2 separate regions of the Homo sapiens genome follow, and region 1 is linked to region 2. Evidence: promoter capture Hi-C in human tissues and cell types (Jung and others, 2019). All regions are on one chromosome and are shown on one strand. Each heading gives the region's core, a stretch centred on a gene start or on the middle of the fragment in contact. The rest is flanking DNA. Distances are from core to core; before and after follow the strand shown.

Evidence for each region. The method cuts DNA at HindIII sites, captures the fragments that hold promoters and counts their contacts. A contact is called where the count stands out against the background at its distance.
Region 1: a fragment that was not itself captured here is called in contact with the fragment with the promoter of CMTR1 in region 2 in 1 of the 25 tissues and cell types used here (spleen).

What each region holds. Positions count from the first base shown.
Region 1 is chr6:37,915,483-37,921,544 of GRCh38, reverse strand. All of the region lies in intron 1 of ZFAND3 (zinc finger AN1-type containing 3), which reads right to left. It also overlaps the pseudogene RNVU1-33. Among named protein-coding and RNA genes, the nearest start is that of ZFAND3, 99 kb to the right of the region's middle. The HindIII fragment of the contact is 3,924 bases long and covers 1-3,798 here.
Region 2 is chr6:37,427,808-37,434,558 of GRCh38, reverse strand. It overlaps CMTR1 (cap methyltransferase 1), which reads right to left and starts at 1,338. Exons shown (of 24, transcript NM_015050.3): 1 at 1,182-1,338. LOC107986531 (a long non-coding RNA gene) reads left to right here and starts at 1,336. Exons shown (of 2, transcript NR_171666.1): 1 at 1,336-1,508; 2 at 1,624-2,331. RefSeq lists a silencer at 993-1,182 and enhancers at 1,183-1,462, 1,155-1,656. The HindIII fragment of the contact is 6,430 bases long and covers 1-5,491 here.

The DNA of each region.
Region 1 (6,062 bases), core at 587-3,086, 490 kb before region 2:
TCTCTCCCCACTCAGAGAAACATACACATGCAAAAAACTATTTTAATATAAATATGGAAATAAAAAACAACTCTTTCACCATATCAATGTTCCTCAACAACTTTTTTTTTTTAACCCAACTGGAAGGAAAAACCTAGGGCACAAGAAAAATAGAGAAAAGTATAAAAAAAAACAGTACCAGCACGTAAGTATACCAAGCTCTTCCAGTCCTATGGTCCCTGAACTTCTCTACACTAGACATGTATCATAAAACTAAAAAAATCTAGACTACAAAGAAAGTTCCTTCTTCAGTGAAGGGAGTCAATCTGTAAAAACTGTCACATTTCTAAAAACTAGTCTGTAAAAACACAATCTGTAAAAATTAGTCACATTTCTGAATTCAACCTCTTCTAATAATCCAGACAAAGGAGGAAAGGGGAGGGATGGGTAAGAGGACAAAGAGAAGGAGAAGGCGGCGAGGAGTGGGGTGGTAAAGGAAAGGAAGGGAAAAACAAACCACAATACCTACTACACTCTAAGTCATCCCAGTTTTCTCAGAGGTAAAATTAGAATATTAAAGACTCCTAACAATCTGCTTCCCGCCTCATACACATATAGCCAGAAAAACTAACTTCCTACAGCAGCCAGGAAGCAGCCAACAGCTCTACTAAATCACCACTCTCTACTCACCCTAGGCAAACACGAAAAAGACCAGTTCAAACAGATGACATCCTAGCTGGCAATGACAAAGGAGGCTTTCAGGGGTGCAACCAGCCTGTCCAAACTGTTACACATCACTCTAAATCATTCAGACCATGTCTGCAAATTTTCTTTTTAAGGAAATATTACAATGGAGAAGATGGAGCTGTTAATAAGGGTATTAGTTTCTATAATGTAGCAATATGGATCCTGCTCACTTTAAAAACTAATTTTAATGTAACAATTTAGATTCCAAGTGGGTTACTGTAATTAGCAGTGGTTTTAGCATTTTATGCCCAAATTCAAGGACAGCAGAGCAAAATGCCTCGATTTTTGTGTGTTTCAAGTACTTGCACTAAAAGTTATAGTGTATAGATGTAAAACTAGTCCCATTATCATCTGTGGCCCTGTATATATTACTGAAAGTTTAGTCCAGCACCATCTAACAATTACAGACAAGATGAGGCATGGCCATCAATAAACTAGTCAAAAGAAGAACAAGAAAAATTAAAATATATGAATGAAAGCCCCTGTAGAAAAGGAGAAAAAAAAAAACAATGAAGTGAATTAAAATGCCAAATAATTTTTCCACATAAGAGAAACTTAATGAGGCTATCAACTCTAACACACCCAATATATACAATGATTGCAACTGTCCCACTATATATCCCCAAACATAAGATAAGGTTTTCTTCCCTAAAGTTATCTTTCAGAAAGAAGGAATTGCTTTACAATTAAATCCTTACTTTTGAGGCAGACACCAATTATTTTATACTAAATACTAACAAGGGCCAAAAAAAAAAAAAAAAAAAAAGCTTCAAAAAAAACCTGGAAGTGAGAAAGAGAAATCCAAGTATGCAGTCATGCCCAGGGAAAGGAATGGTGTTTGGGATTTCAAAAGAGGAATGTAGAGTCCCAGTCCCAGAGGCATCTCTCCAGTTAGTCTGTGAAATGGCTGAGACAGTGAAGTTCTCATCACTAGTCAGGGACACTGAGGTATGGAAGGATGTCAAGCCAACTCTAATATTGGATACTTTGTCATGGTTACAACAACAAACTAGTTTTATAAAAAGGGGAGGATTCGGTTTTAAACACAGATTTAATACTTATTTCTGGAGAGTGATTACAAATAGTAGCTGCCATTGAAGAAGGCCTCTGAAGATCTTCTAGAAAGCAATGCAGTAACAGCCTTGAAATGTGAGGAAGATCATAAATGACGTCAAGATGATGACAACTCTCCTAATGTTACATGAATGAATTCTTGTGGCTTGGGATAAATTTTCCAGTGACTGCAACATTTACAGATTTTAAAGTGCTTTATCTCAAACAACTTGGAGGCTAAAAAAAAAAATGAATGTGATATTCTCTGAAAAACCATGGTCAATAACTTTTAAAACGGCTTGGTAAATATTAAATAATAATTTGGTAAATATTGAAGTCTGATGTCTGTGCAGACATGGAGAATTTAAATCTGTTCATAACTAGGAAAAGTAACATTTTAAAATTTATATTACGAGCATATACAAATTACATATAATTTTATATAATCCATGACCTTTAAATATGCATGTGCAGTTACCATCAGGACAAAATGGGTGAACATATATATAAGATCTCTCAGCCCGGCGCGGTGGCTCACGCCTGTAATCCCAGCACTTTGGGAGGCCAAGGCAGATCATGAGGTGAGGAGATTCAGACCACCCTGGCCAACATGGTGAAACCCCGTCTCTACTAAAAATACAAAAATTAGCTGGGCGTGGTAGCGCATGCCTGTAATCCCAGCTACTCGGGAGGCTGAGGCAGGAGAATCACCTGAACCAGAGAGTCGGAGGTTGCAGTGAGCCAAGATTGCGCCACTGCACTCCAGCCTGGGCAACAGAGCGAGACTCCGTCTCAAAAAAAAAAAAAAAAAAAAGGCATTTTTCATGTTTTGAAAACACACAGAAAACTTCCCAACCATCTAGTACAAGAGCAAGTATCTGAGAATTAAACTGAGAATGACAAATTTAAGAGAGATAACAATAAGGTATTATCTGACCTTATTTTTCTTCTGGCTAACAATGTTGCTTTTGAAAATAGGTGGGGTTGGGAGAACAACAACATTTATGGAGCTCAGAGTACTTTTTCCCAAAGTGTGTCAAAATAATTAAATATTCACCTGTCCTACCCAAGTGCCAAATATTTTTGCTTCATCCACTCATCCACTCTCATTAAGATAATTCAGGCTTACAGAGAGAGGCTCTGATTTATCCATATTTATGGTAAATTAAATCAAAGGCATGATAATTTTAATGAAAGATGAAAAGTAACCTAAAGTATTATTATTAGATCTTTCCTTGTCAGAAAATGAGACATAAACCTGGGAGATAATAGAGTTACAAGGGTTCAAACTACAAGGTTAAACAGGCTAGCAAGGAAGCTGTATGGCTGAGAAAGAAAAGCACAAGGTACTTCTAGAAGCTGGAGGATATCCAGGAAAAGACATCTACACAGGCCAGGCGCAGTGGCTCACGCCTGTAATCCTCGCACTTTGGGAGGCTGAGGCAGGTGGATCACAAGGTCAGGAGATCGAGACCATCCTGGCTAATATGGTGAAACCCCATCTCTACTAAAAATACAAAAAATTAGCCAGCGTGGTGGTGGGTGCCTGTAGTCCCAGCTACTTGCGAGGCTGAGGCAAGAGAATGACGTGAACCCGTGAGGCAGAGCTTGCAGTGAGCCGAGATCACACCACTGCACTCCAGCCTGGGCAACAGAGCGAGACTCCATATCAAAAAAACAAAAACAAAACAAAACAAAAAAAGACTTCTACACGATGCAACATTTCTGTTCATGTCATTCAGGTAAGATAAAAATACCGACAGAACATCTACAAAATATGGAGGAGGAGAAAGCAATATCTAGCAATATGCACATATAAGAAAAATTTTAATGTATACATAATGTCACTGACATATTTTTTAAATGTCATTTGTACTTCAACATCTTTCATTTGTTCAAATTCCAAACATTTTATACCTTACATCAATCTACTAGGCCATTCTCAGGGAGTTTGTGAAAGAGTCAGGATACCACACCTACGACGAAACTAGATAAGGAATGGTTGAAAGGTGACAGCAGAAAATAAACTGCTTTCCTTATTCCCAGTCCAATGCTCACTGACAAGTGAAGCTCAAAGTTCAAAATATTCATTTCCTATTTTAATTATTCATCACAAAATACAAGATTGACCAGAGTTTGCAAGAGAAAATTATCTGGTTATAACCCCCAGCAAAAAAACAGAAGGGAACTCAAGAGTACATCTTTTCTATCTCTGCCTCAAAAAGACTTAAAGTATTCCTGTTCTACAATCACCAGAGATTCTATTGCTTTTTGTGTATCATATTTCATTGCCTTTGTAATCATAAATTTCTAATGTCCAACACATATTTCCTCCCACTGTTGTAAACTTTATAATTCTGTCTTCAGGGTAAAAACAGTTGCTACAGGGGTAGTGTTAAGAGCAATGACTTGGGAAGAAAGGGCTTAGCTTGAAGGTGGGACGTCGCAATTGGGTTTTGTCACCCATTAAAATAAAGTGAGCTACTGAGACCAATGACCGCTAACATTCTATAAATCTATGATCACACAATGATATACAGTAGTCCCCCATTATCCTTGAGGGATACATTTCAAGACTCCCAGCAGAAGCCTGAAATCATGGATAGTACTGAACTCTATATATACTGTGTTCTTCCTATACAAACAGATTTCCAAATTTATAAATCCGACACAGTAAAAGATTAACAACAATAATTAACAGAACAATTTTAACACTATGTCAGCATCACTATGTTTGTGCTTTGGGGCCATTATTAAGTAAAATAGGATTACTTAAACACAAGCACTGAGATACCATGACAGATACCATGACAGTCTACCTGATCACCAGGACAGCTACTAACAGGCAGGTAGTGTATACATAGTGTGGTTATACTGGAGAAGGGGATGATTCGCCACCAGGGCAGGACAGAGCAGAACAGCATGAGATGTCATGATGCTATTCAGAATGGTGTGCAACTTAAAACTTATGTTTATTTCAGGAGCTTTCCATTTAATACTTTCACAACATGGTTGACTGCAGGTACCAGAAACTGCGAAATGTGAAAACATGGATAAAGGGAGACCACTGTAATTATACATGGCATACCTTACTTTTTTCTTTTTTCGAGACAGAGTCTTGCTCTGTCACCAGGCTAGAGTACAGTGGCGCAATCTCAGCTCACTGCAACCTCTGCCTCCAGGGTTCAAGCAATTCTCCTGCCTCAGCCTCCTGAGTAGCTGGGATTACAGGCACGTGCCACCACGCCCAGCTAATTTTTTTTTATTTTTAGTAGAGACAGCGTTTCACCGTGTTAGCCTGCATGGTCTTGATCTCCTGACCTCGTGATCTGCCTGCCTTGGCCTCTCAAAGTGCTGGGATTACAGGCATGAGCCACCGTGCCCGGCTGGCATACCTGGTTTTATAGCACTACAGTTAACCACACTTTGGAGGTACTGTACTTTTTACAAGTTGAGGGTTTATGGAAACCCTGCATTGAGCAAGTCTTTGTTTCAACAGCACGTGCTTACTTCATATCTGTTTCACATTTTGATAAGGTTTGCAATATTTCAAACATTTTCATTATTATTATATCTACAATGGTGATCTGTGATCAGTGTCTTTAATGTCTATTGTCATTGTTTTGGGACACCATAAACTATGCCCATACAAGCCAGCAAACTTTTTTTTTTTTTTTTAAGTTAAAAAAAACACAGCAGCCGGGCACAGTGGCTCATGCCTGTAATCCCAGCACTTCAGGAGGCCGAGGCGGGCGGATCACCTGAGGTCAAGAGTTTGAGACCAGCCTGACCAACATGGTGAAACCCTGTCTCTACTAAAAATAAAAAATTAGCTGGGCGTGGTGGCACATGCCTGAAATCCCAGCTACTTGGGAGCCTGAGGCAGGAGAATCACTTGAATCTGGGAGGCAGAGGTTGCAGTGAGCTGAGATCGTGCTACTGTACTCCAGCTTGGGCAACAAGAGTGAAGCTCCGTCTGAAAAAATAAATAAACAAAAAATTTTTTAAAAACACATAGCATCAGGGGAGAGTGCAAACGCAGCCTCCCACTACCATAAATTATGCAGTCAAGTTTCTCACATTTGTGGAAAATTGCAGGGGTCAGCACATCCAGAGTGCAATGGATAAGCCCAAGGTAGCAAACTTCATCAATAAATGTTATGTGTGTTCTGATCACTCTGCCAACTGGCCATTCCTCCATCTGTCTCCCATTTTCTTGGGACACTATTAAAATTAGGTCAATAATGCTACAATGCCCTCTAAGTGTTCAACTGAAAAGAGTC
Region 2 (6,751 bases), core at 89-2,588:
AGAAAAAAATAAGATGGAATGAAGTGATTATGAAACCCTGAAATCTTAACGAATTATCAAGTTAAAGAGCAAGCAAGAGAAGTAGTGAATACAGTGTGGCTTACACACAACTGATTGGCTGTAGAGAACTCAGAAAAGAGGACTCAATACAGGGTGGGCGACAAGCTGGGAAACAATCCTTAGGGAAGGCGAGGTACAGCAAGAAAGTATTGAAACCCAAAAGTGTCACTGATGCTCCCAACCTCGTAAAACCCTGGATCACATGTTTCAGTTCTCTCCAACTCAAGGAAGAGCCAATCAACCCAATGCACAACCGCCACCTTCCTGAGAAAGCAGCCTCTTACTAGATACAGGCAGGGGCTGTCCCAGGGAAGAACCGGAGACACTGAGCAAACAGAAAGCAAGACCAAGCTAAGCCACATTTCACTTTAAGCCGTAGTCTTAAATACCCCCAAAAGGCCCCCAGGGTGAGATAAAGGAAGGCTCATCACAGAGCTTGCTTCTAGCCATTGCAAGCGCTAAAAGCTTTTAATTCTTAAGTGACTCGGGGGGAGACTGGAAGTACAGCAAACTCAAAGCGGACTGTTGAACAGCTGTGTGAAAGGCAGGAGAGGCGGATGCTCCTCCCCAAACCACATCACCTTAGATTTGGGCCTTCCAAATCATCTCATCCAACCCTATCATCTTCCACGGGAAAAGACTGCGGCCACAGAGGTGAAGGCCACACAGCTAACCAGTGCCCTGCTCAAGTGACCCACACATGCCAGCAGAATGCTCTGGCAGGGAACTTCTAAGCGGAAGGCAAGCGGCCTGGTTCTACCTGCTGCTTCCGCACAGAAGGGGTTCAAATCCCCTCTGCAGTCTTCTCTCCCTGGGCCTCGGTTTGGCACTGCCACCCCTAATCACAGAGAGAAGAGATAAGCTCCCATGTCTCCCGGCCAGTCCCTTCATTTGAAGATAACATGAGCGTGTGAATGTGTGCGCAGAGACGTGTGTCAGCGGCAGCTCGGGCTCCAGGGAGCCGGCGTTGGGGGTGGGAGGAGGAGGGAAGACATAAGGGGCCAGAAGGCGAGGAGACCCATAACCGCGGGCGGGGGGCCCAGGCGGCGGTGGAGGGGAGAAGGATGCTGAGCCCGCGCGCCCGCCCGCTTGCTCCCCCCGGGCCGCGCGTCGGCACTCACGCTGAGGGGAGAGAGCGAGCTGCCGGGGAGCGGAGGGGGGGTCAGGCCGACACTGTCGCCGCCGCTGCCAGAGCCGCCGCCTCCTCCCTCAGTTTCGTTTCCCCACAAGCCAGCCCGGGTCCGCCAGCCGCACCGTCGCGCTCGGGTCCAGTACTGCGGGCAGCGCAGCCTGATGACGTCACGGACAGCGCCGCGCCTCGGTCCTCCCCCGGCCGGGTCCCGGCCCCGGGAAAGGCAGCTGAGGTTTGGCCCGCTCCACCTCTCAACCTGGGAGGTCCAGGGGCGCCTGCGCGGAAAAGCCGCCCGGAAAAGGCTGCAAAAGCAAAAGTAACTATCTCCTCCTTTGGCTCTGAGGAAGAGAAACCAATACAAAAATTGTAAGTGCTAGGTGCCCTCACACGACCTCATCTTACTTAATCTTATCATTATCTTCATTTTACAGACTAAGAACAAGTTCAGAGAGGTAGATGGTAAACTGGTTGAGCGAACGCAGTGTTCTTGTTCCCTGCTGTATCCCCAACATCCAGCCTATGGGACATCTCAACAGATTTTGAACGAAGGACGGGAGGACAGAAGGAATGCCGCCTGTAGCATCTTACCATATGGGCACAGTTGGCTCTCCATCTCAAACCTCTCTTCTGATTTTCAGGCCAATATGGCCAAACGTCTGTTGGACATCCTCACTCAGTCACCTCAAACCCCATGAATTCAAATTTCACCTTATGTTCTTCCATCAGCTCACTTTTTTCCTGGTGAAGGGCGCTGCCATCCATCCTGTTGGTCCAGCTAGAAATCTGAGGAATCTCCCTCTTCTTCATACCCCAAAGTTTCTCATACACTTAATTGCGCTTACCTCCTAATTGTCTTTCAAATCCATCCATTCACCCCCATCCCCATTGCCACAATTCATGCACTTACCCCCTCTCGGCAGAATTTCTCCAGTAACTCCAAACTCCCGTGACTGTCTCCAGTTGTGATCCCTCTAATGCGTTCTTCACAAAACCAAAGTGATTTTTATAATTTTCAACACCTGTGAAAAGAAGGGAATTTAAAATTGATTAATTAAACCTGATCCTGTCACAACCCAACAATGATTAAAATCCATCAATGATGTCCCATTGCTCTTAGAATAAAGCTAATGTCCTTAAAATGGCCTCTGAGACCCTCCAGCATGACCCCTTCTTCAGGTATGCCTTGTACTGCTATCCCTTAGTTCTCCCCATGCTGACTCTTCTCAGTTTATCAAATATGCCGTGTCTCCGCCGGGCGCGGTGGCTCACACCTGTAATCCCAGCACGTGGGGAGGCTGAGGCGGATGGATCACCTGAGGTCAGGAGTTCGAGACCAGCCTGGCCAACATGGTGAAATCCCGTCTCTACTGAAGATACAAAAAAAGTAGCTGGGTGTGGTGGTGCGCACCTATAGTCCCAGCTACTCAGTAGGGTAAGTCAGGAAAATCGCTTGAACCTGGGAAGCAGAGGTTGCAGTGAGCAGAGATTGCACCACTGCACTCCAGCCTGGGCGACAGAGCCAGACTCCATCTCAAAAACAGAACACAACAAAACAAAACATGCCATGTCTCTTAAGAGTTCAGCCCCCTGCCTGGATCATGCTTCTCCTCTTTGCTGGGCTAATGTCCATTTATCCCTCAGGAGTCACTTTAGTGTCCCTATCTCGAAATATTTCCTGATGTCACAAATCTAGGTTGGGAGACCCACCTCTGAGCTCCTAAAGCACTCTGTCCTTCCACTATCAAAGCACTTACCACGGTGTTGTATAATGGCCTGTGGACTCATCTGCCTCCCCGACTCAGCTGTAAACTCTGTACAGGAAAGATTGTCTGTCTGTATTAAATTCACAAGATTTAACAGAGGCTGGTGGTCAGTGCTCAATAGATATTTACTGAATCTGTGGAAGTGTGGAATATGAATGAAGGTTGAGTGATATGTTCAAGATTACAGAGCTAGGAAGCAGCAAACAGGTATTTACCTAGTTCTCTATGTTCTAAAGTTTAGTGTCCTTCTTTCCACCTCACTGAGGCTTCTTAGCATGCATTATGACATGAACACTTTTGGTAATCTTGTAGAGCTTATGGACCCATTCTCAAAATAATAATTTGAAGGGTATAAAATAAGGTATAGGAAATGAGTTATATTGAAAAAGTTAACATATTTAGCAAATTTAATGATTTAATTTTTATGTAAAGCATTAAATAATGAGAGAATGCATTCAAAATATAGTCAAGTTAAAGTTAAATTTTATTTTTTAATGTATATGAGTATACCCAATGAATAGTGCTGGAAAAAACAGATAAATATATAGGGAAACACGAACTTTGAATCTTTTTTTTTTTTTTTTTTTTTTTGAGACGGAGTCTTGCTCTGTCACCCAGGCTGGAGTGCAGTGGCACAATCTCCGCTCACTGCAAGCACCACCTCCAGGTTCACGCCATTCTCCTGCCTCAGCCTGCCGAGTAGCTGGGACTACAGGCGCCCGCCACCACGCCCGGCTAATTTTTTGTATTTTTAATAGAGATGGGGTTTCACCGTGTTAGCCAGGATGGTCTTGATCTCCTGACCTCGTGATCCGCCCACCTCAGCCTCCCAAAGGACTGGGATTACAGGCGTGAGCCAACGTGCTCGGCCCACTTTGATTCTTACTTTATGCCAAATGCAAATTAAGATACATCATAGACCTAAGCATAAAATCTAAAATGATAAAGCTTTTAACAGAAAACACAGGAAAATATTTTTGCAGACTTAGGGTAGACAAAGATTTTTTTTTACATGGGACCCAGGGAGCATTAATCGAAAGAAAAATAATGATAAAATGGAGTTCATCAAAATAAAAGGCTTCTACTCAACAAAAGACACCATTAAGACATTGAATAATCAAACCACAGAATGAGAGGAAAAGATTCACAATACATATATCTGACAAATGACTTATCTCTTATATATATATATACACACACACACATATATATATAAAATACCCAAGAATAAAAAGAAAAACAGAAATTTCCAATTCCTGTCAAAATGGAAACAGCACATTTCATTCTGTTTCTCCCACTGAATGTAATTTAAAACCTTAGACAGAATGCATGGAACAACTATCTGAGGATTCTGAAAAGTAAATGGTAAAGTATAAAGTAAATGGCAGGAATATGGAGAAAGGAAACCAGAAGTCAAAGAACTGTCAAATCAAGAGTGAGTTTCCCAATTTTTTTCCCCTTCGTTTTCTCCCAACTTGTACTAAAAGGCAACCGAAAATGCACATATTTTGCACAACAATGCGAATATAGTTAACACTGCTGAACTGTACACTGTTAAATTACATTTGGCTTAAATCTGCCTCCATACATAACATAATCTAATAATATGTAAACAAACTGTAACCTAACTTGAGAGTATATTCTTTTTTTTTTTTTATTATTTTTTGAGACAGAGTCTTGATCTGTCATCCAGGCTGGAGTGCAGTGGCACAATCTCAGCTCACTGCAACCTCCACCTCCCGGGTTCAAGCAATTCTCCTGCCTCAGCCTCCCAAGTAGCTGGGACTATAGGCACATGCCACCACGCCTGGCTAATTTATGTATTTTTAGTAGAGACTGGGTTTTACCATATTGGCCAGGCTGGTCTTGAACTCCTGACTTCGTGATCCACCTGCCTTGGCCTCCCGAGAGTATATTCTTGTAACAAGTATCTGAGTCTGGGCTAATCATAGCAGGTAAACTTTCAGTCAGTCATGGGGATGCAAACTGCCAAAACATGTCCAAATAAGGCAAATGCCAAACTGTAACCAATCAGATTATTTTTGTATGTCACTTCCTTTTTCTATCTATAAATACTGCATGCCTCCATTGGTAGGTAAAGCTCTCTGAAACTTTACTGGTTTGGGAGGCTTCCCAATTCATGAATTGATTCTTTTCTCAAATAATCTCTGCTAAACTTTATTTATGTAAAGTTTTTCTTTCAACAACACTTAAAAATGGTTAAGATGGTAAATTTTATGTTGTGTTTTTTACCATAATTTAAAGAATAGCCATTATAACCATAACCTAAAACACAGGAGTAAGACTCTTAAAAAATGAATAGAAAGATAGTGAGTCTCTGCAGAAAGAACCGAATGGAAATTTTAGAATTAAAAAGTACAGTAACAAAAACAAAAATTTCACTAGATAGGTTCAATAGCAGAATGATGATGATGGGGGTGGAGGAAGCCACTAAACTTGAAGATAGATCAATGAAAAGTATCAAACGTGAAAAACAAATGGGAAAAAAAAGTGAATACAGCCTCAGGGACCCAGGGAACAATACCAGACGATCCAATACTTATGTCATCAGAGTCCCTACAAAGAAAAGGAGGTAGAAAAAAATATTTGGCGCTAAAAAATATTTGAAGAAATAATGGTTAAACACTTCCAAACAATGGCAAAAGGCATGAATTTACAGACTCAAAAAGCTCAGAATTTCCCAAACAGTAAATGCCCAAAGAAATCCACTTCCAAATGCATCATAACCAAACTGCTGGAAACTAAAGCCAAATAAACTATGTTAAAAACAGCCAGAGAAAGTTGTCAAAATCAAAATGGAGTCACTCATGTTTAAAACTCTGACAGGCCAGGCACAGTGGCTCATGCCTGTAATCCCAGCACTTTGGGAGGCCAAGGCAGGTGGATTACCTGAGGTTGGGAGCTCAAGACATGCCTGGCCAACATGGTGAAACGCCGTCTCTACTAAAAATACAAAAATTAGCCAGGCGCAGTGGCACACATCTGTAATCCCAGCTACTCAGGAGGCTGAGGCAGGAGAATCGCTTGAATCCGGGAGGTGGAGGTTGGAGTAAGCAGAGATCACACCACTGCACTCCAGTCTGGGTGACAGAGTGAGACTCCATCTCAAAAAAACAAAACAAAACAAAAAAACAAAACTCTGACAAACAGAGCCAGGGAACCCACGAAGGGAGGGTTCTCATGCATAAATGCCTGATAACAACAACTATCACAAAAGGCTCTGCAAAAATCACAATCTTCCACAAAAGTCGTCACAACCTAACAACAACAACACAACATACTTCTGCAAGGACCATCTGCCTAACTGCCTGTCCAAACTTGCAATGACACCACCCTTGTTATTAAGGATCCTTGTAGTGAAGGATAATTGTCTCAAAACATTTATGTAATCCTCCTCATTTTTCCTAAAAAATTTTTGGTCTTCCTTTACCTGTCTGAATACACACATTATTTACTGTGGCAGCTGTACTCCCATTGCAATGCTTATTCCTGAATAAACACAGCGTCTTTTTTAGAGAGTTTCTCTCTCTCTCTCTCTCTCTCTCTCTCTCTCTCTCTCTCTCTCTCTCTCTCTGTCTCTGTTGCTTAGGTTGACAAAACTATGTATCACATTTAGGGGAAAAACAATTAGAATGACTATGGATCTTACATCAGAAACCATGGAGGCCAAAAAAGTAGTGACACGAAACATTTCAAGTCCAGAAAGAAAAGAACAGTCAACGTGGAATTCTATATCCAGTAGAAATATCCTTCAAGAATGAAAGCAAACTAAAGA